Regions from separate parts of the Homo sapiens genome. Here all the other regions are linked to region 5. Evidence: promoter capture Hi-C in 16 types of primary human blood cells and fetal thymus (Javierre and others, 2016). All regions are on one chromosome and are shown on one strand. Each heading gives the region's core, a stretch centred on a gene start or on the middle of the fragment in contact. The rest is flanking DNA. Distances are from core to core; before and after follow the strand shown. Region 1 overlaps TMEM161B (transmembrane protein 161B). Region 2 overlaps TMEM161B (transmembrane protein 161B). Region 3 has its middle 75 kb from the start of LINC02060. Region 4 has its middle 59 kb from the start of LINC02060. Region 5 holds the start of COX7C (cytochrome c oxidase subunit 7C). Region 6 has its middle 120 kb from the start of TMEM161B. Region 7 overlaps TMEM161B-DT (TMEM161B divergent transcript).

Region 1 (2,764 bases), core at 53-2,552, 1.6 Mb after region 5:
CTGCCTTAATGTATGTTACTTAGTTTACTGAGACCCTTTTTACTTCAAATTAATGATAATTTGCCCAGCTCATGTTCATCTTTTCCTGATCTTCGAAAATGGTTTTGCTAAGCTAAATCAGTAAACAAGATTGCACAGGCATATTAAGCCTACACAGTAAAAAAATAGTTAAAGATTATTTTCACTTATTTTACACTTTACCAAAACTTTAGCCATTATTTATTTTGTTCCTCAAAATGTGCATTTGTGAACAGCTCTCTCACACATTCAGTATACACACACACACCTGTGTATCACATTGTTCCAAAAAAATTTTAAAGCAGTCTGAATAATATTTTTCAATATTAAACATCAATATGGAAAAAGTAGAAAGCACAGAGAAGAATACAAATAATTTAAAATAGAAAATAAATTATGTGAAGGAAATTTAAGCTTTGTAAATGGGATGACCCTGAATGAAAAGCGTATTTGTCTTGTAGAACATGAAATCATTACTAGGACAGGTATCCATTGTTTTTCTAACTTCAATAGGCCTAACCAAAAGAAAGCAGTAACAAAATTTGGTTATTTAACTGAAATGAACAATTGAAATAAATAGTCATGGTACCAAATTTATCACTTACCTTTCACAACTACACAGGATTTTGGCATGTATTTCTGTGTGCAGACTTTCCTTGATTTCTCCCCACTGTATCTATACCTATACTTTTTTAATCTAATTTTGTTGAGGGGTGGGAGGTACATGTTTCAGCAAGCCTACTTAGCTCCTTTGTGGAAGGAGTAGGGATTGTGAGCCTATGGTGTAGTAGACAAAATTAAAATCCCACAACATAACTTTATCCCCCTCCTTGCTAAATTAAACAGTTTAAAATTCTTTGCAGTAAAACTATGAACTCCTAATATCTGTATTATAATAAATTCTGGACTGAGCCACCAATAGAATATATGCTTTCAGTATTTTCTTCGAACAATAGCAAAAATACTTAAGCACTTGGATTTACAATTTCTCACCCCCTTGTTGATCAAATTTTTTAAAGGTAATTAGAAAAATATGTGGTGTTTTCAGTGCCCACAGACCGAAAAAGAAAGAAGGTAGGGGTGGGAGGACTGAATTCTTGTCCATGACCCTATTACCTTTGTGCTAAACAGATAAACTACTAATATCTCAAACTAAGAGTAATAAGGAAGCTATAATGAGGCAATCCCAGAACTTTGGGAAGCCAAGGTGGGAGGATTTGCTTGAAGCCAGGAGTTGAAGAATAGCCTGGGCAACATAGCAAGGTCTTGTCTCCAAAAAAAAAAAATTAATTTTTTAAGAGAAATAAGAAAGCTAGATTTTTCTTATGACTTCCTTTTGTTAAAGTTTTAGAAACAGTAACTAGGAATTTAATCAGTTTGGTAAACTAGAGATTGAAAGTGTCAGTTGAAATCAGCCTATCCTTGCCTTACCTGCCATTACAGAGTAGCCATCGAGCAAGAGAATAGTGAGGTATAATCTTCTGCATGACACTGGCCATCACCATGGTAACAACCAGCTGTATACCTATCACACCCTGTGTAAAAAAAACAAACAAATTTAATAATGAATGATTTTGGATTTGGGGACATTGCTGGAAAACTTTCTGTACATTTTGAAAATTACATTTTAAGAAAAATGAGTTTACTATTAAAATACATTACTCTCAGCCCTCCATATCTGCAGGCTCCACAACTGCAGATCAAAAATATGCAGGAAAAAAATACAGTAAAAAATAATACAATTAAAAATATACTACAAATTTTAAAAATAGAGTATAACTATTAACATAGCATTTACATTGTATTAGGTATTATAAGTAATCTAGAGACGATTTCAAGTATATAGGAGGACGTGCATAGGTTATATGCAAATACTATGTCATTTTATATAAGGGACTTGAGCATCCTCAGATTTTGGTATGGGGTGGTCCTGGGACAAATCCCCTGTGTAGACACTGAGGGACAACTGTTAAATTCTGGCAATTAGGTATTCAAGATCACATAGTCTAATATAAACTTAAAATGAATTAGTATACACATCTATAATCTATTCTCAAGAAATGTTCTGCATAAATTAAGGATATCAAAATGAAGTGGAAAGCGATTTCTTCATCCTTCTCCAATTTACTCTACACACTAAAAACATTAGCTTGACAAGCTTTAAAAGTAATATGCCTGGTTTTAATCCTAGGTGGTAGTGATCACAAACCATTAACTATACGAAGTGTGATGGCAGAACTGGCCTGAAAGTCACTAATAAAGAAAACTGAACTCATGCTGTTACCACCCACTTCCAGTGAATGGGTCTTAATGTCCAACAATCCTCTTAGTTTACTCTCATCAATCCTTCCCATATTCTCCATGATGGCTAATTCAAACCTTCTTTCCTCTCTTCACATCTCCAACCCCCTTCAAACGTCTAACTCTCCACTCGGTAGAGGACATCTACTTTACAGGAAAAATAGATACAATCAAATGGGAACCCTCTCACTTCCCACCAATAAGCTCACAAAGTCACTTATATCTACATCTGTCTTTTCTTAGACCCCAGAAATAATAGAGCATCTTCTATAGAAAGCAAATCTCTCTATCTGTGCTTTAGAGCCCACTTTCTTTGATTTTCAGGAACTTCCGCTATTGAATAGTCTTCCTCTATCTTCTTTAATCTCTTTTCTATTTTGAATCCTTCCTATCAGCATTGTGTAATACCTGTAAGTCTCTTTCATTTTTTCTAGAGAATAACAGT
Region 2 (2,836 bases), core at 121-2,620, 1.6 Mb after region 5:
AGGAAAAGAACTGGGATAACCGTGAGATAGGCTTGGAACAAGTGTAACTCACTAAGTGCTTACACTGATAAGAAATTCAAGTTCAGCACAACTCATCCCCAATTTCTCAAATTGCTCTTCAACTCATCAGTGTTACTAGAAGTGCATCTTCAGGCCTAAGAGAAACTAAGGCTTTGGTGTAAAGCAGTGCCTTCAGTGGATGCAGTTAAGGTAGAAGAAATATGAAAGAATCTTATGACTTACTGCAGCAGTGGCAGATGTGTTTGACACCTAGTTAAAAATGTCAATCAGTACTGCTATGCCGGATAGTAATGATTAATTGCTTGAATACTATAGAGATATATTAGGTGTTAACTAGGTTCGGGAAACATTTTCTAAAAATATCGTTACTAATTATGATTTCTATAGGAAAATGTTTTTGAATTTCAAACACTAGATTGAACTTGTGAAATTCAATTTTTTCATAAGTGAATCTTACTCAAGACAAACAAAAGACTGGCACAACAGCACAAGGGACAAGAAGCCTGGGTTAAAAGTCAAATTCTGTCATCTCTAGCTGTGTGATTTTGGAGAAGTTACTCCAATCTTGCTGAGCCTCCATTTCTACATCTGTAAGATAAAGGTTTAAAAAAACAGAATTTAACTACTTCATAAAGATTTAAATGAGTCAATATAAGTGGAATGTAGAATAATACCTGGTAAATATTAAATGTAAAATAAATGCAGCTGTTATCGTTATTGAGGAAAAGTAAAATTCAATTTCTTACCCAACGGACATACTTCTACTTACCCTCAAAAATCTAATCCAAACCTTTCTTTATGAAACCCTTCTTGAATTCCATAGAAACTGAATATTCCTCTCTTTGTATCCCATAATGTACATTCAGCTAAATGTTCAACAGTATTTCCAAATTTACATAATCAGAATCACAGAAACTTGAATCAAACTATAAAAATCATAGAATTCTAGTTCAAGCACACTTTCAATGCCATGTATTTATTTTTACTTTTCAAATAGTCATTTTTAGTTTTTATTTTTGTGTTTTATAAGAGTCAGGGTCTCACTCTGTTTCCCTGGCTGGAGCACAGCAGCCTGATGACAACTCACTGCAATCTCAAACTCCTGGGCTCAAGTGATCTACCCACCTCAGCCTCCCAAGTAGCTGGAACTACAGGTGCTTGCCAGCACGCCTCACTAATTTTTAAAACCTTTTGTAAAGAAGAGGTCTCACTATGTTGTCCAGATTGGTCTCAAACTCCTGGCCTCAAGTGACCCTCCTGCCTTAGCCTTCCATGAGCCACCATGCCAGGCCACTTTTCACAAAGTCATTTTTAGAAATAGCAGCATACAAGCACATCGATTTTCATAATGATTAAGAATTTTTTTAATTGAAATAAGATACTGAGATCCCAAGTCTCAAAGTAGCAAAAGTTTAAGTTGTTTCAGGTTTTCTAAATCTTATAGTTTATAGCCAAAACACAAAAGATATTTAACCTACTTTAACAACAGAACTACTACGTCTGTTTTATATAATTAAAAGATGTGAACATAAAAATCATTGGGTAAGTGAGTTGTAATTGTATTCTCTAAGAACTGCAATAACTTAAAAGACTAAAAATAGGTGGCATATCCTGGAACCAATAAGCAATTATAGCAAGGTTGCAGGATACAAAGTTAATATACAAGTCAATCACTTTCCTATATATTAGCAATGAACAAGTGAAATTTGAAATTAAAAATACTATTTACATTAGCACCCAGAAAAAAATGAATACTTTGGTATAAATCTAATAAAATATGCCAAGACCTGTATGAAGAAAACTACAAAACTCTGATAACTGAATTCAAAGAATAAATAAATGGAGAGATATTCCATGTTCATGAAAAGGATATTACCAAGGAGGCAGTCCTTCTCAACTTAATCTACAGATTCAATGCAATTACAATCAAAATCCAAGCAAGTTATTTTAAGGGTATCAAAAAAAAAGAAAAGAAAAGAAAAGAAAGAAATGTTCTAAGGTTAATTTGAAGAGGCAAAAGACCCAGAAGAGCCAACACAATACTGAAGAACAAAGTTGGAGGACTGACATTAACCAACTTCAAGATTCACTAGAAAGCTAGAATAATCAAGACTGTGTTATTGATGAAAGAAGAAATAAACAGATCAACAGAATAGAATAGAGGGGCCAGAAATAGACCCACATATAGTCAAATGATCTTTGACAAAAGGGCACAGGCAATACAATGGAGAAAAAAAAAAAACAAACAAATTTCACCAAATGGTACTGAAACAACTAGACATTCATGTGCAAAAAAAAAAAAAAAAAAAAAGACTCTAGACACACACCTTACACTCTTCACAAAAGTTAACTCAAATAGAACATAGACCTAAATGTAAAACACAAAGTTATAAAAGTCCTGTTAGATAACATAGATGGCTGTGGACAAGGCAACAACTTTTTAGACACAAAACCAAAGGCATGATCCATGAAAGAAAGAGCTGATAAGCTGGACTTCATTACAATTAAAATCTGCTCTGTAAAAGACAATGTCAAGGAAATGAGAAAACAAACCAGACCAGGGGAAAATATCTGCAAAAGACATATCTGATAAGGATTGTTATACAAAATATAACAAACTCTTAATTAAAACTCAACAAGAAAACAACCTGATTTTAAAAATGCACCAAAGACCTTAAAAGACACCTCACCAAAGACATACAGACAGCAAATAAGAATATGAAAAGATGTTCCACATCATGTCATTAGGAAAATACAAATTAAAATAAGGAAATACCATTATACACCTATTAGAATGGCCAAAATCCAGAACACT
Region 3 (2,832 bases), core at 247-2,746, 1.9 Mb after region 5:
TTGGGAAATCCAAATCACAATTCTTTTTATTTTGTGAGTATAATACAGAGAATTTTATATCAAAATTAAAAACGAGAACAAAATTAAAAATCCCAAATAATGTGGGTAACTTCTCAAACTCTTTTAGTCAAAGTGCAACCAGGAGAGAAAATGTAGTGGTTTTCCCTTTATCAGTCTCAAATTTATCGGTTTAAGAAGTCCACCTATTTCTCACATGTTTTATTTAATGAGTAGTCTATGCTCAACCACTCTGTATATATTCTTTGCTATTTCATGAGCTTCAGCTATATCATCTCAGCCTTTGCCTCTCTAGTCTGAGGAGACACACTAATTTAGTCTTTCCTCATTTCTTTGTTCTTTATTTTAATTATAAAAAGTAGCCTGAATTGGACATTTGATAGTTTTTAGGTTCTCATGTTGGATATATTTTCTTAGTAGATTCTAACTAATGTTGGGAGTACCAAGAAATCTAGATTGAACTGAGTTCCTTCTTTAAAACTACAACTCAATCAGAGCAATTGCAATGGTCCCAACTCTCAGTTCCTTAACTCCTCTCCAGAACCTTTTTTTTTAAAGGCCATCTTACCTCTGTGCTTATCACAGGACCACTGGGCTTCATGCAAATAGCAGAAACAGTCTTATGGACACTAAAGTTTTCAGGACTACTTGGTGATTTTAAATTGCAGTCTGTGAATTTTCTCTTGTCCAGATATGCAACTTCCAGGGGTCATGTTTGAATGAATATCTCAGTGATTCAGATGTCTCGTACCCCCTTAGATATATTTAGCAGAGGATTAATCAGGCAGGTTGTCATAGCACAATGACCATTACACTTGGAAGTCATCCTGACTCTCTCACCAGCCATCTTAATGACTAGAAAACCAGGGCTTTGGGATCCATTTTCTTCTACTGACAAGCAGAGAATTAGGAAATGGTTTTCAAATTCTTCCAGAGAGTCTTTGGGATTTCTTTGGTGCCCTTTCCCATGCCATTAGGAGATGGGAAGCAGGACGAGTGATTGAATGGATGGAGGTTTGGGCACCATGCTTCCCCACCAATCCCCATAGCATCTCTGTTTTCCTCTGCTTTATGTATTTGGCTTCCTCCCAAGACTGTTTAAATCAAGAATTTCCAGGAGGGAAAGAAAAGGAAAAGAAAGGAAAGGAGTAAAGAAGAGAAAAAGAAAGAGAGAGAAAGAAAGAAATAAACAGAGGAAGGGAGGGAGGGAGGGAGGGAGGGAGGGAGAGAGAGAAAGAAGAAGAAGAGGAGGAAGAAGAAGAAGAAGAGGCAGAAGCAGAAGCAGGAGAAAGAAAGAAAGAAAGAAAGAGAGAGAAAGAAAGAAAGAAAGAAAGAAAGAAAGAAAGAAAGAAAGAAAAGAAAGAAAGAAGGAAGGAAGGAAAGAAAGAAAGAGAGAGAGAGAAAGAAAGGAAGGAAGGAAGGAAAGAAAAGAAAGGAAGAAAAGAAAAGATAAGAAAGAAGGAAAGAAAGAAAGAAGAAAGAAAGAAAAAAAAAGAAAAATCTGGATGTGTTGGCTCACACCTATACTACTGACTCTTTGGGGAGGCAGAGGTAGGAGAATCACTTAAGGGCAGGAGTTCAAGACCAGCCTGGGTAACATAGGGAGACCCCATCTCCACAAAAAAAGAAAAAAAAATTAGCAAGACATAGTGAGGGGTGCCTATAGTACTAGCTACTCAGGAGGCTGAGGCAGGAGGATCTCTTGGGCCCAGGAATTTAAGGTTACAGTGAACTATGATCTCACCCCTGCACTCCAGCCTGGGCAACAGAGCGAGATCCTGTCTCTTAAAAAAAAAATGGAAAGAAGTAAGGAAGGAAAAGGACCAAAGAACTATATAATATCTGGTAGCCCTGGGATGTGTAAACATCTATCATTATAGACTTTACAGTAGTAGTTTAAATTTGTATTATATGCAAACCATTTATATTGTGTAAAATTTATATTCATTTCCCATGTAATTCACATAAAATTTAAAATGCTAATTTTTCTATCCTATCTTGGTGATTTGCTGTATGCCAGAAAGTTTGCTAAGGGATTTACTCATATATCACTTTCCATTTAATCTTTACAATAACCTTTGGGGTAAGTATCATTATGCCCATTTTATGAATAAGCAAACTATGACTTAACTATGGTTAAGCAATTTGCCCAAGGTTTCAAACCCAGTGTTTTAGATCATTCAGTCTGCTACAACAAAATACCATAAACTGGGTAGCTTATAAACAACATTTACTTCTTACAGTTCTGGAGGCTAGAAAGTTCAAGGCATTGGCAGAGTTGATGTCTGCTTTCTGATTCTTTGCGCTGTGTCCTCACATGGTATAAGGAACAAGGCATCTCTCTTGGGCCTCTTTTATAAGGGCTCACCCTCATGATCTAATCATCCCTCAAAGACCCCACCTCCCATTATCACCACATTGGTGATTATGTTTCATCATATAAATTCTGGGGAGATACAAATATTCAGACCATAGCACCTGCTAAGTGACTTCACTAAAGTTCAGACACAATTCCATCAGGTTCCACAGATTAAGTTCTTAAGCCGTAATGCCTCTAAAATATTTCTCTGAACAGAAGCCATTCACATGGACGATAAATACAACTCACAAATACAACTCCAATAGTCACATTACAAAAGAACAAAAATTTTATTTCAGGAATTACAATTTAAAAATAAATAAGGAAAAAAAGCTGTACAATTGAAATTTTGCTTTGTAGGAATTCAGTTTATTATAACAAACTAGGGTTTTTCACATGTACATTGTGTCTTAGTTTATTCTGGCTGCTATAAAAAATACCATAGACTGGGTGGC
Region 4 (2,874 bases), core at 372-2,871, 1.9 Mb after region 5:
TCTAAAGCACAAACATGATTAGGAAATTTATCTGCCTAATTATTTTTTTTCAGGTCAAAATTCAAACTCCTTGTCATGATCTTTGCAATCTGTTGGTAATCCCACCGGCTTAATCCTCCAACCTCGTCTCCCATTTCTGGCCTATGGTGGGAAGAGTACACACAGAGAAACAATATTTGTTGAGCACATACTACAGGCTGGCATTGTGTCAATTGTATTATTTCTGTTATCTCATTTTGTCATCACACAAATCTACAAGGAAGAAATTATTAATTTCAAGCAATTCATTTTGATTCAAAGGAGGACACTGAGGCATAATCAGCTACAAAGATGACTGAACACAGACACTGCTTCTGATCATCCACACCTGGATTCAGACTCAAGTCTAAGTAATTCCAACACCCTTTCCATCCTGTAGTCTCCTTACTTGGAGTGATCAAACATCCTGGTTTACCTGGGACAGTTCCTTTTTATTTGTATTGTCCCAAAATAGTGAGGAAAAGCACCCCTTTCACTCTCAAAACTATCGTTCTGACTTTGTTAGTGAATTGCATGGCCACTCTGCCTATACTCCAAATCTACCATGCTGTCACATGTTTCTGGAATGCAGTATACTTGCTCATGATTCCATTTCTTTCCCAGTGCTGTTTCTTCTGCCTAGAGAGTTCTTCCTTTCCCTTTGTCTCCCGGGAAAAATATGTCCCATTCTCAGGAATCAATTTCTTCACTGTCTCTGGGAAGTCTCCCCATTCCTCTAACTTCAGACAGGGGTCAGTACCCTCCTCTGTGCTCCCCATACTCCCATGTTACTGCTATTCCTTTATACATTTTTGAGTACTTGGCTGTCCTCTCTATCAGCCTGTGAATTCCTTAAGGTTTGGACTGTACCTTAATTATCTGTATATCCACAGTGCCAATAATTTTGCATGGCTCAGAGAAAATCTTAAATATTTGTTGAATAATGGGATAAATGAAATAATAAATTTGAAAGATCTAGTCATTTGCAACAATTACTATAAAAAGTAGAAGCAGTCTCTTCTAAAAAGAGTGAGCCTATTCTAGCTAGATCTGATTTACTGTACCGGGAGGCTGCTTAAGTTCTGAACAGTTGTTCAGAGAGCCTCTGACCCTGCATCAGCACTCATACCCAGGCCGTCCTGTTTTATGAAGTGGTCCTCCTGTTTGGAGTCTGAGATATTGTTCCCAGTTTTCTGGACTGCTCTCTACTTCTATAATGTGCCTCATGCTCCATTTAAATATTTTCCCATATTTGCTTAAGCCTGTGGTTAAGAGTCAAACCCTGGGTTTGAATTTGTGCTCCACTATTTCTTAGATGAGTGACTATGTGAAAACCTCTTAAGTTTCCTAAGCCACAATTTCTCCATAAAAAATTAGTAAAATTGACTGTATCTCATCTAATTAAGTTTTCGAAAGTACTTAATATAGTAGCTGGAACTTAGTAAGAATCCATAAATATTAGTTATGATTTTTATTAATAGTATTATTATTCCTTCATCATGCCTAAGCTTTCCTACCAGACTGAAAACCTTGTTTCCTCCAATGATCTATTTTTGTCCTTTAGGACTCATTAATTTTAGATATCTCAATATATGTTGTATTCCCTGAATAAGTCCAACAGACTGTGAATGACTCTAGATATTCCACCACTTCTCTGGGCTCCTACTGTCTCCTTGCCTAGCACTAATGCTATTCCATAGAAGCTTTTTAAATCAACCTCTTTAACTGACTCATCAGATTAACTGACTGTCTTTGTATGGTTCCTCTAGAAGACAGAGCCTGAGGCAGGGATTAAAGTGATGACACTATGGACATATAAGCCCAGGGTAATAAAGATGAAGAGAAAGAGAGAAGTGAGGCAATAAAAGACATGGAGTAATGCAAATCATTATCATGATGGTCACCACTTCACACAGAGTTCAAAAGAGTTGACAACAGTACACCGGCAGACTTAACTCAGCACAAAGGGACTTCTTCCTAAAAAGGTTATAAGGAGAAGCTTACCTTATTGCTGTCCATGGAATGAAGAAAGGAGAGATTCACCTGTGAGAGGCCTCCCATCTCTCATTTCCTATTGGTCATGATTCATCACACAAGGGGACATCTCCCCAGCACTGCCAATGGACTCTTAGGTCCCCTGGTAACCACTCAGGAGGCCAAATCCCATGCTCGCAACATGGCATTTTATTCATATCTAAAGTGGAAGGGTGACTTGGTACAAGTAAATACCACCTGAGAAAGAGAAGAAGAAATGTCAACTAGGGGATCTGAGAAGATACACATGATTTGTGTCCAATATACTGATTCTCTAGGCCTTGTCTAAAAGTCTCAAAACTCATGATGAGTAGGCTATTCTCTAGAATTCTCTAGTCTTGTGCTTTAACTTGATGAATTACATGCTTGTAATAATCACTTATGTTTATTCTTAAATTTTTTCTGCCATTTGTGCTTGTTATTTGAATTATACAATTATTTAATTAAATACCACACATTAGTAAAATATGAGTGTGACAAGAATGAAAGGTGCTTGTATGGAAATGAAAAAGAGTATTTTGGAAAGACTTAATAAAGGTAAGTCTCTTGAAAAAGGTTTGCTAAGAGAGATGAAAGTGAAATATTTGCAAAGGGCAATGTTAAGAAGCCAGAAGAGTCTGCAGTCATATGGTTTCACCCATGCCTTTGCATTCTTGCTGCATGGAAAAACCCTGCACAAAGCATGATCTATTTGGTATTGCATGAAAGACAATATGGAAATCCAGTCAGCACACTCATCATTGAAGAAAAGTCCTGGCTAACAACAACAAAAATATTGGTCATTTTATATACATTTTTATTAAAAATTAAAAAGAATTTTAA
Region 5 (2,742 bases), core at 7-2,506:
ATTTAAGTGTTTTTTTTAAGTGTTTTTTTGGGGGGGAGGGGCATGGTTGTTCTCTTCCAAAAACTGAAAAAAAAAAAAAAAAAAAAGACGAAAAGAGCATATATGTTATGCCCTTTTCAAAGCAAACCTTAGGTCTTATTGGAATTGTTTCCTAATGCTATATAAATGAGACACGTGAGGCAATATACACTCCCCCACAGATGAATAACATAACATTTAGGTTACCAGGGCCTTTCACAATCTAACCTAACACCACTTTCCCAGGTTCATTTATCACTGGTTTCTTCTCAATACCTTCTGGTCAAAGACCACCAGAAGCACACATGTAATTGACAAACGGGGTTTATTATTCATTGCAGTAAGGGTTCTCTGTAAAATATTAGAAAATGCTTATTGGATTTGGGATTTTTTTCTCCTAATATTGGCTACCTTACCAAATCTTAGGAGGAAGAAAGGCTAGATCAAGGCTAAGATTGTAATTGGTAAAGAAGCAGAAGTCATCAAATTAAACCAGATAGGGTGATGTCCGGTCATTTTCGTGGCTTGGACAATGTTTTATCTGTGTTCAGATGTGATTACACAGTGATCATATTCTTTTCTTAATGAACACTGTCAGAGTGGTCTTGTTGGATGCTAATGCTTGCTGAAATTGTGTACGTTCATCAGGCGGACACCAGTTCCTAGTCCAGGCTAGCTCCAGGTGTCAGAGGCCACTTTTCCCTTCTACTCCTCACACATGCTGTACTCATACCAGACTTGAGTTTTCCCTGCCCTTTGTTCTTCCTTCTTTTTTATTCGATTCCCATTATCTTTAGTGATCATTCCCTTAGCATTTCAGTTTTCTCTCTGAAGTCCTTTGTGCTGCACGTTGTTTGATTACTTGTGTTTATGCTTTGTTTCTTCAGCTAGGATCATTAGCACATATCTCTCAGCATTGGCAAAAGTCCTCGAAATCATTGACACCTAGCATATACTTTATTTTTAAAAAAGAAAGAAAGAAGAGAAAAGGGATGGGTTTATTGTCCTTTTCAACAGACTAGAGTATACGGGGTGAAACTGCTTCACTTGATTCAATAAAATCGTTTCCGGTAACAGGCCCCAGGAATCCTAGACCTAAGCCTGGCGCGAAACTACATTTCCCACAATCCTTCGGGGGCTGATAAGGCTCCGCAATGGTCTGAACTACAATTCCCACAATCCAGGGCGATTTCCGCTTTGTCGCGTTTCCTCAAGGCTCCGCCCCATTTCCCATCTTTCTTTTCAGTCCTTGCGCACCGGGGAACAAGGTCGTGAAAAAAAAGGTCTTGGTGAGGTGCCGCCATTTCATCTGTCCTCATTCTCTGCGCCTTTCGCAGAGCTTCCAGCAGCGGTATGTTGGGCCAGAGCATCCGGAGGTTCACAACCTCTGTGGTCCGTAGGAGCCACTATGAGGAGGGCCCTGGGAAGGTTAGTGTGTAAGGGGCACGGCTTCGTTGGGGGAGGGGGCGCTTGGCTGTGACTCGCGCACCTGCAAGGCCGCCTCCGGGCTGTGGCGTGGGAGATGATAGCCAGAAACCAGGCTGAGACGCAGACTAGCATTCCACTTAGCCCAAGGACCAGTGAGGAAGCTGGGCATCCTAGCGCGTAGCCGCTAAAGGAATGGGCAGGTAGATCCGGAAGCCCTGCCTCCATCAGCCACCTGACGCCCCCTCCCCCGCCCCGCAGAAAGCCCTGAGATGGCTCCGGGAGGCCACGGCTGTAGGTGTGTTGGTTAAATCCGAGCTGGAGGTCATCGGACCCGAAATGAAGGTCATTGGAAAATCATGAGGAAATCAGGGCCTCTGGTTATGGAACAGGCTTTTTAAACTAGCTGCCTAAGTTAGAAGTACTAACCCTTCACCTCAGTTAAGGCTGGGTTTGGCCTCAGGTGTAAATAACTTAAACCACATAGCAGTAACAATCTCGGAGGGTCACACGAGGCCTAGTCATAAAGGCCAGAGAAGGTGCTTGGTAATGAAAAACAAACAAACAAAAAAAACTGTGGGCCAGGTGCGGTGGCGCACGCCTGTAATCGGGAGGCTAAGGCGTTCGGATCACCTGAGGTCAGGAGTTCCAGACCAGCCTGGCCAACATGGCGAAACCCTGTCTCTACTAAAAAGTACAAAAAAATTAGCCGGACGTGGTGGTGTGTGCCTCTAATCCCAGCTACTCGGGAGGCTGAGGCAGGAGAATCGCTTGAACCCGGGAGGTGGAGGTTGCAGTGAGCCGAGATCGGGCCACTGCACTCCAGCCTGGACAGAGCGGGACTCCGTCTCAAAAAAAAAAAAAAAGAAAAAAAAAGAGCTGTATTGCACTTAACATTGCCATGTATCTTCTAAGGTGACTACTTAGGACAGTAGTTTTTTCGATTTTCTAAAGTAAGAAACTTCTCACTATTTGACGTTTGAGTCCTCAAGACCATTCATTGCCTAGTGCTTAGTAAAGCCAGATTATTTCTTGCCATGTAGTGTTTTGTGATGAAGGTCATAGGATTTGAAAGATAAATGTTTAAAACGATGTTATGATTTATGGCATATGTTAACCTGATGATGTAAAATATAACTAGCATTTCCTGTATACTTGTATTTTGATTATTAAGCAGATGATTTGAGATTCAATTTCGATTACTTTTTCTCTTTTTTTCCAACAGAATTTGCCATTTTCAGTGGAAAACAAGTGGTCGTTACTAGCTAAGATGTGTTTGTACTTTGGATCTGCATTTGC
Region 6 (2,700 bases), core at 116-2,615, 1.5 Mb after region 5:
AATCCTTTCTAATAGCACCTAATTTATTTCCTATTTATTCTGCTTGCTTGTATGTGGTTTATGAACTGAAACCACCTGATTGTTAACAAATGTATCGATTTAACAATTCAAAAAGTATTTCCATTTTCAAATACTTTTCCCTTGAAAGTAATGTTAACATTTCTTGAACTTAAAGCTTCATGAAAATTGCTTTCAAAATTTTTTGTAAATGTAAATATACTGTATTTTTACACAGTTGAGTTAGAAATAGCTGGTATTTTAAAAATATAGACATATTAATGGGCATTTCTTAATTTAATTCCTCCTTTTACTTCATAATGTCCCAATATGTTGAAGCAGAAATCAGAATAGATAGTATTGACAAGAAATGTATCCTTTAAAAGTCAAATTTGTCCTTTAAATTGGCTTTTCTCATAAAGCAGCTCTAAAGTTTAGTATATGTGTATAAATTTATGCATACAACATAATATAGTCTTTTCTCTGCTATTAACTAGCCAGGGAAATTCAAGTCTTTTATTCTTAGTATGTCACAGCTTTTTTAATTTGAGATATCTAACTAAATAATCTCCAATTCAGAAATTGTAGAGTTTTTGAAATATTTTACTTTAATGTATTCTGCAGTTATATAAAAATAACAAGGCAATAATAATATCAAAATTAAAATTTCCCCGGAATATTTTACATAATTAGAACCAATAATACTCTGTGTTTTCACTGTCTACAAAGACTTCCTAACCTGATCCATCACTCCTAATAGTCTAAGAGTCCATTAATATACAGTAAGGATGAAAAAGAATTGTGTATCTTTATGCATATATCTTTACTTTTATGTAAAGGAGGTCATCTCTTTCACTGGATACCCAGTGAAATTCATGATTCAAAAAAGAACCATTGATCTACACTTGAAGCCTTCATAAGTGAGAACACAACCACCACCACAGCAATCATTGCATTTACATTTTGGATATAAGTAATAATTTTTCTAGACATCCTGGAATGTAAAATGTTGGAAAGATCAGTAAGCTAAAAATGAAGAGATTTTTAACTCTGGGTCTTCCTCTAAATGTCTAGTGACTTTAAATGAGATGCCGTATTCTGCTGGGGCCTAATTTATCCATACAATTAAGAAATTGAATCAGATGAGCTCCCCAAGTCCATCTAGTCTTACAAGTCCATAAAGTTCTGGACACTGTGCAGAGTAACTGGATCTGTCATTATTCAGTGTTTTTCAAAGCAAACATCACAATTTAGGCATAAGACTATGCCAGAAGCTTTACTTCTTTGTGATCTTATTTGCACCTTACTGTAGCTCTTCCTTTGCATGGATGAAATGATTAGTTCTTAAAGTAATTTAAAGGTATCAAACGAGATGTAAAGTTCTTCACTGGTACTGCTTGTCGTTGTAGGAAATGATGTTCTCAGAAATGTTGTTATCTATAAGAATTTCATGCCCCTAAAACAAGCTTAAATTTTCCTTCAGCTATTGAAGTTGGTAAATTAATACCTTTGATAATTTTATAACTTTCTATGGAAGACAGCTGGTTCATTTCAGTGGTTATAAGAATCAAGAACTACAAAAATATATACTCTCTGATAGTATTGTTGAAGCTTTTTCTCCGGTAACAAAGAATCTTTGCTCAATTCTTCACCCCTTGACCCCGATCTCACCTCTATTCCCAATATGCAGTCCTCACCTAGACCCATTCTTCCAGGCTGATGCTGAGTTTATTTACTCTAAGCAACATTTTCAGGAATCAACATCAGCAGATTACTACAATGAACATTTTTTTTTAGTTCAGCCTCAAGTCTATGAAATTAATTTCCATTTTGATAATCACAAGACTTTCCTTGGAAATATCAGTGACTGCACAAGCCATAGGCAGATCAAGTGTAGATGCTCCATCATCTGAATAGGGTTGGGTTATGTTTTCAATTGGAACAAGGTATTAAGTGATTAAACTGTGCCAGAGGACACAGCACTTTTATCAAGCCCTTTTCTATCCAAGCAGGCACAAGGATAGTCAATCCCTGGCCCTGAAAGTCTACAAGGAAAACTTGGAATGCTTTAGGAAATCGTGTTTATAATTAAAGCACTGGCATTTTTCTTCTCATTACAGAATAAAGGCTGAATACAATTTTTGAAACTTTACCTTTTTTTAATTTCAATTAAGCTGCTTAAGATCCTCTTGCATTCATTGACAGGATTTTTGGCCCATTCTGCTATTCTAGTCCACAACCGTTTAAGTGTTAAATGTTAGCAGATTACAAGTGACTAACAGTGGAATATTCGGAATTCTATATGCCATTATTTTAATTCCTACCACAGCTAGCATTCACACAAGATAGAAGTTCAAAAACCAGTTTGGGCACTATATTTTGCCCATCTTCTTGTAGATATAGTTAGAACACTGATGTGTCATCACCTTATTCCTCTCAGCATACCTGGCATGTGTCTGAGAGAATGAGTGAATTAAATGAATGAATAAATATGCAAGGTACCCAATGTCTATTTGACTATTTAGACCTGCGGAAGAAGTGGCAGCTTTTTAGTGATTACTAGCGTGGGTTCTATATTATAAATGTTCTTAAATAAAAATACAAAATGAACACAATAAGACACTAAGTATATGTCATAAATCTGAAATAAAATTGCTAAGCACTCCATTATCATAAAATTCTTTTTAGAAGTCTTCCAAGAGA
Region 7 (2,831 bases), core at 50-2,549, 1.7 Mb after region 5:
CAGCTGCTAACATGACAGACAAGAAAACATATGTTTCTTAATGGAAAAACACCACTACTGATGTTAAAATCTTATCAAAAATTTGACCCTGATACTAATCAGGTCTTTAGATCCATCCAATTTGCAGAAAATATAAACACCATTAAAACTTTAAGCCAATGAAACCTACCACAACGTAATATTTTGGAATGGAAAATATAAATGAAAAATCCAATTTTGGAGAATATTGGGACAAATTAATTTCAACAAATATGTTGCAGGAGAAAAGGAGACGAGAAGGACAAGTGGAGAAAACCGTAGATTACAAGAGACTTAGTTCAATATGAAGCAACCTGTGAACTTGGATTAGTTATCTTACTGTATAACAAATCACCCTAGCTTAAATCTAAAAATATTTATACACTTTCTTAGGATCCACAGGTGGTTTAGCTAGATGTTCTGGCCCAAGGTCTCATGAATTTGCAGTCAAGATGTTGGCTGGGCTGTAGTCTGAAAGTTTGACTGGTGTTAGAGGATCCACTTCCTAGAGGGCTCATTCGTAGAGCTGCCTGTGTTTTCTCACAACATGGCAACTGGCTTTCTCTAGAACAGGTGATCCAAGAGAGAGACAGAAACCATGATCATTCAGAGTGATGTAACATTACTTCTACTATATAATGTTAGTCACACAGACATTTCCCTGACAATATGTGGGAGGAGATTACACAAGAGCATGAATACTGGGAAGCTAGCTGTCACAATTTGGCCCCAATGATTGATAGTTCTTGATTTGCAAAATATATTCATCCCCTCCAAAAGCTCTCCAAAGCTCTCATCCTATGACACCATTAGTTCAAGGTCTAGAAATCTAAATCAGTTCCAATTGTGGATGACACTCATAGGTGTACTTAAGTACAGCTCCTCAAGAAGAGTTCTTTTTGATCTGAAGACTCATACACTAAAGACACAGTCTCTGCTTCCACATGTAATAGAAAATGAATAGGATAATAAATGTGGACATGTATATTTAAAAAGAGGGAATATTGGAGGTACATAGGTTCACAGAAATTCTGAAACCCACCTGGGCACAGATTGGCAGTTGCTTGGTCAAGTTTCAAGGCCTAGAATTCTCTTAGCTCTGCCTTCTGGGATCTTGGATCTACTCACTGAGTCACCCTTTCTTTTTCTTGTTTACACTTCTGCCTGCTTTCTGCCTATAGAAGCTTGGATGTCCCACAAGCTTCTTTCCATTTGGTTCTCTCTGTGCCTTTCAGTCCAGGCTGGCCATGTTTCTGCTAATAGACTTCTCTTAAAAACTTTGTGGCTCACTTGTGAATTTTGAGTTCACTCCATCAGACAAAAGCAACAACCACACATCTCGTCCCACATAAACTCTGCCTCAAGCTTTTGCTGATGAAAATACCCTTAAACTTTTTAAAAACCTGTGATGTTATTCAGAGATTTTCTGAGACACATCGTTTGTCTGATGAAAATACTCTGAGGCACAACTTAAGATCTTTCTGAGCTATTAAAGGACTTTATAACTACAGCCTCAACTTTATGTTTTACTGGCAGTGCCCTAGATTTGCTTTTTGCTCAGAGATATTCCCCAATTTTAGCACATTTGTCATCTGCACAGGCTGGGAATCTTCAAATCCAGCAAGTTTTGACTTGTTTTTGTTTGTTTGTTTGTAATAGAGTCTGTTTTTTGCTGTGTTGGCCAGGTGATCTTGGACTCCTGGCTTCAAGCATTCCTCCCACCTCAGCCTCCCAAAGTTCTGGGATTTTAGGTATAAGCCACCATGCCCAGCCATGGCTCCTTTTTGTTTAACAGTCCTTACTTTGATGGTCTCTCTTCTCACACATTTTACTATCAGCAACAAGAAAAAATACACATGAAATATTTAACACTTGGCCGGCAATCTCCTTTGCTAGATCAATGAGTTAATTAGGCATTTTTTCTACTTTGTACATATCTGTGGATAACAAATTTGCTAAACTTTCTGCCATTATGTAACAAGGATCTCCTTCCCTCTAGTTTCCAAGAAGAGTTTTCTAATCTGTTAAGATGTCACCTGCAGCCTCCTCAAAGGTTATCTATTATGCTTCTATAAAAAATTTCTTCAAAGCTCTTCAAACTTTCATTAACACTCTCCTCCAAGTTCTACCTTCTGTTCACTGCCAGTTTTAAAACCACACTTACATTTTAGGTTTTTGCTAACACCCCACTTCTGAGTACCAAAATGTATACTGATTTTCTATTGCTGCATAATAAACTGCCCCAAAATACAACATGCAAAGCAATAAATATTCATTATCTCATGTAGTGTCTGAAGGTCAAAAATCCGGAAGCAGCATAGCTGAGTGGTTCTGATTCATTGTCTCTTGTGAAGTTATCAGTCAAACCATCAGCTGAGACTGTAATCATCTGATGTTTTAACTAGTACCAGAGGATACACTTTCACATGCTATTGGCAGGACACTTTAGTTCTTCACTAGCTGTTTAGCAGAATACCGCACTTCCTCACCACATGTACCTCTTCATAGAGCTTCCTGGCTTCCTCTAAAACAAGTAATCCAAGAGAGAAGCAGAAGCCACCATGGTTTTTTATGCCGTTGTTGACCTAGCCCCCAAAGTGACATATTATTACACAGATATGTAGCCAACCTGTGGGTCACTGATACGGTTTGGATGTGTGTCCCCTCCAAATCTCATGTTGAAATGTGATTCTCAGTGTTGGAAGTGGGGCTGGTGATAGGTGTTTGGTTCATGAGGGTAGATCCCTTATGAATGGCTTGGTGCTGTCTTTGTGGCAATAAGTGAGTTCTCACTATCTGAGTTCACACAAGAG

What was found. The method cuts DNA at HindIII sites, captures the fragments that hold promoters and counts their contacts. A CHiCAGO score of 5 or more calls a contact.
Region 1: a contact is called between a fragment that was not itself captured here and the fragment with the promoter of COX7C in region 5, in 3 of 17 cell types (total CD4 T cells, activated CD4 T cells and non-activated CD4 T cells). The highest score is 6.8, in total CD4 T cells.
Region 2: a contact is called between a fragment that was not itself captured here and the fragment with the promoter of COX7C in region 5, in 8 of 17 cell types (non-activated CD4 T cells, total CD4 T cells, total B cells and 5 more). The highest score is 26.8, in non-activated CD4 T cells.
Region 3: a contact is called between a fragment that was not itself captured here and the fragment with the promoter of COX7C in region 5, in 1 of 17 cell types (non-activated CD4 T cells). The highest score is 5.8, in non-activated CD4 T cells.
Region 4: a contact is called between a fragment that was not itself captured here and the fragment with the promoter of COX7C in region 5, in 2 of 17 cell types (non-activated CD4 T cells and total CD4 T cells). The highest score is 9.8, in non-activated CD4 T cells.
Region 6: a fragment that was not itself captured here is called in contact with the fragment with the promoter of COX7C in region 5 in 1 of 17 cell types (total CD8 T cells); the score reaches 5.7 in total CD8 T cells.
Region 7: a fragment that was not itself captured here is called in contact with the fragment with the promoter of COX7C in region 5 in 8 of 17 cell types (total CD4 T cells, non-activated CD4 T cells, activated CD4 T cells and 5 more); the score reaches 21.6 in total CD4 T cells.

The regions. Positions count from the first base shown.
Region 1 is chr5:88,239,364-88,242,127 of GRCh38, forward strand. It overlaps TMEM161B (transmembrane protein 161B), which reads right to left. Exons shown (of 12, transcript NM_153354.5): 2 at 1,450-1,553. Among named protein-coding and RNA genes, the nearest start is that of TMEM161B, 28 kb to the right of the region's middle. The HindIII fragment of the contact is 1,744 bases long and covers 431-2,174 here.
Region 2 is chr5:88,259,420-88,262,255 of GRCh38, forward strand. All of the region lies in intron 1 of TMEM161B (transmembrane protein 161B), which reads right to left. Among named protein-coding and RNA genes, the nearest start is that of TMEM161B, 8.0 kb to the right of the region's middle. The HindIII fragment of the contact is 4,836 bases long and covers 1-2,836 here.
Region 3 is chr5:88,513,140-88,515,971 of GRCh38, forward strand. No RefSeq gene overlaps it. Among named protein-coding and RNA genes, the nearest start is that of LINC02060, 75 kb to the left of the region's middle. The HindIII fragment of the contact is 7,891 bases long and covers 1-2,832 here.
Region 4 is chr5:88,496,651-88,499,524 of GRCh38, forward strand. No RefSeq gene overlaps it. Among named protein-coding and RNA genes, the nearest start is that of LINC02060, 59 kb to the left of the region's middle. The HindIII fragment of the contact is 195 bases long and covers 1,525-1,719 here.
Region 5 is chr5:86,616,685-86,619,426 of GRCh38, forward strand. COX7C (cytochrome c oxidase subunit 7C) reads left to right here and starts at 1,257. Exons shown (of 3, transcript NM_001867.3): 1 at 1,257-1,446; 2 at 2,669-2,742. The coding sequence starts at 1,372. RefSeq lists enhancers at 925-1,004, 1,016-1,681, 1,068-1,362, 1,295-1,384, 1,682-2,347. The HindIII fragment of the contact is 5,230 bases long and covers 1-2,742 here.
Region 6 is chr5:88,146,519-88,149,218 of GRCh38, forward strand. No RefSeq gene overlaps it. Among named protein-coding and RNA genes, the nearest start is that of TMEM161B, 120 kb to the right of the region's middle. RefSeq lists an enhancer at 1-8. The HindIII fragment of the contact is 192 bases long and covers 1,270-1,461 here.
Region 7 is chr5:88,279,127-88,281,957 of GRCh38, forward strand. All of the region lies in intron 2 of TMEM161B-DT (TMEM161B divergent transcript), which reads left to right. Among named protein-coding and RNA genes, the nearest start is that of TMEM161B-DT, 12 kb to the left of the region's middle. The HindIII fragment of the contact is 164 bases long and covers 1,218-1,381 here.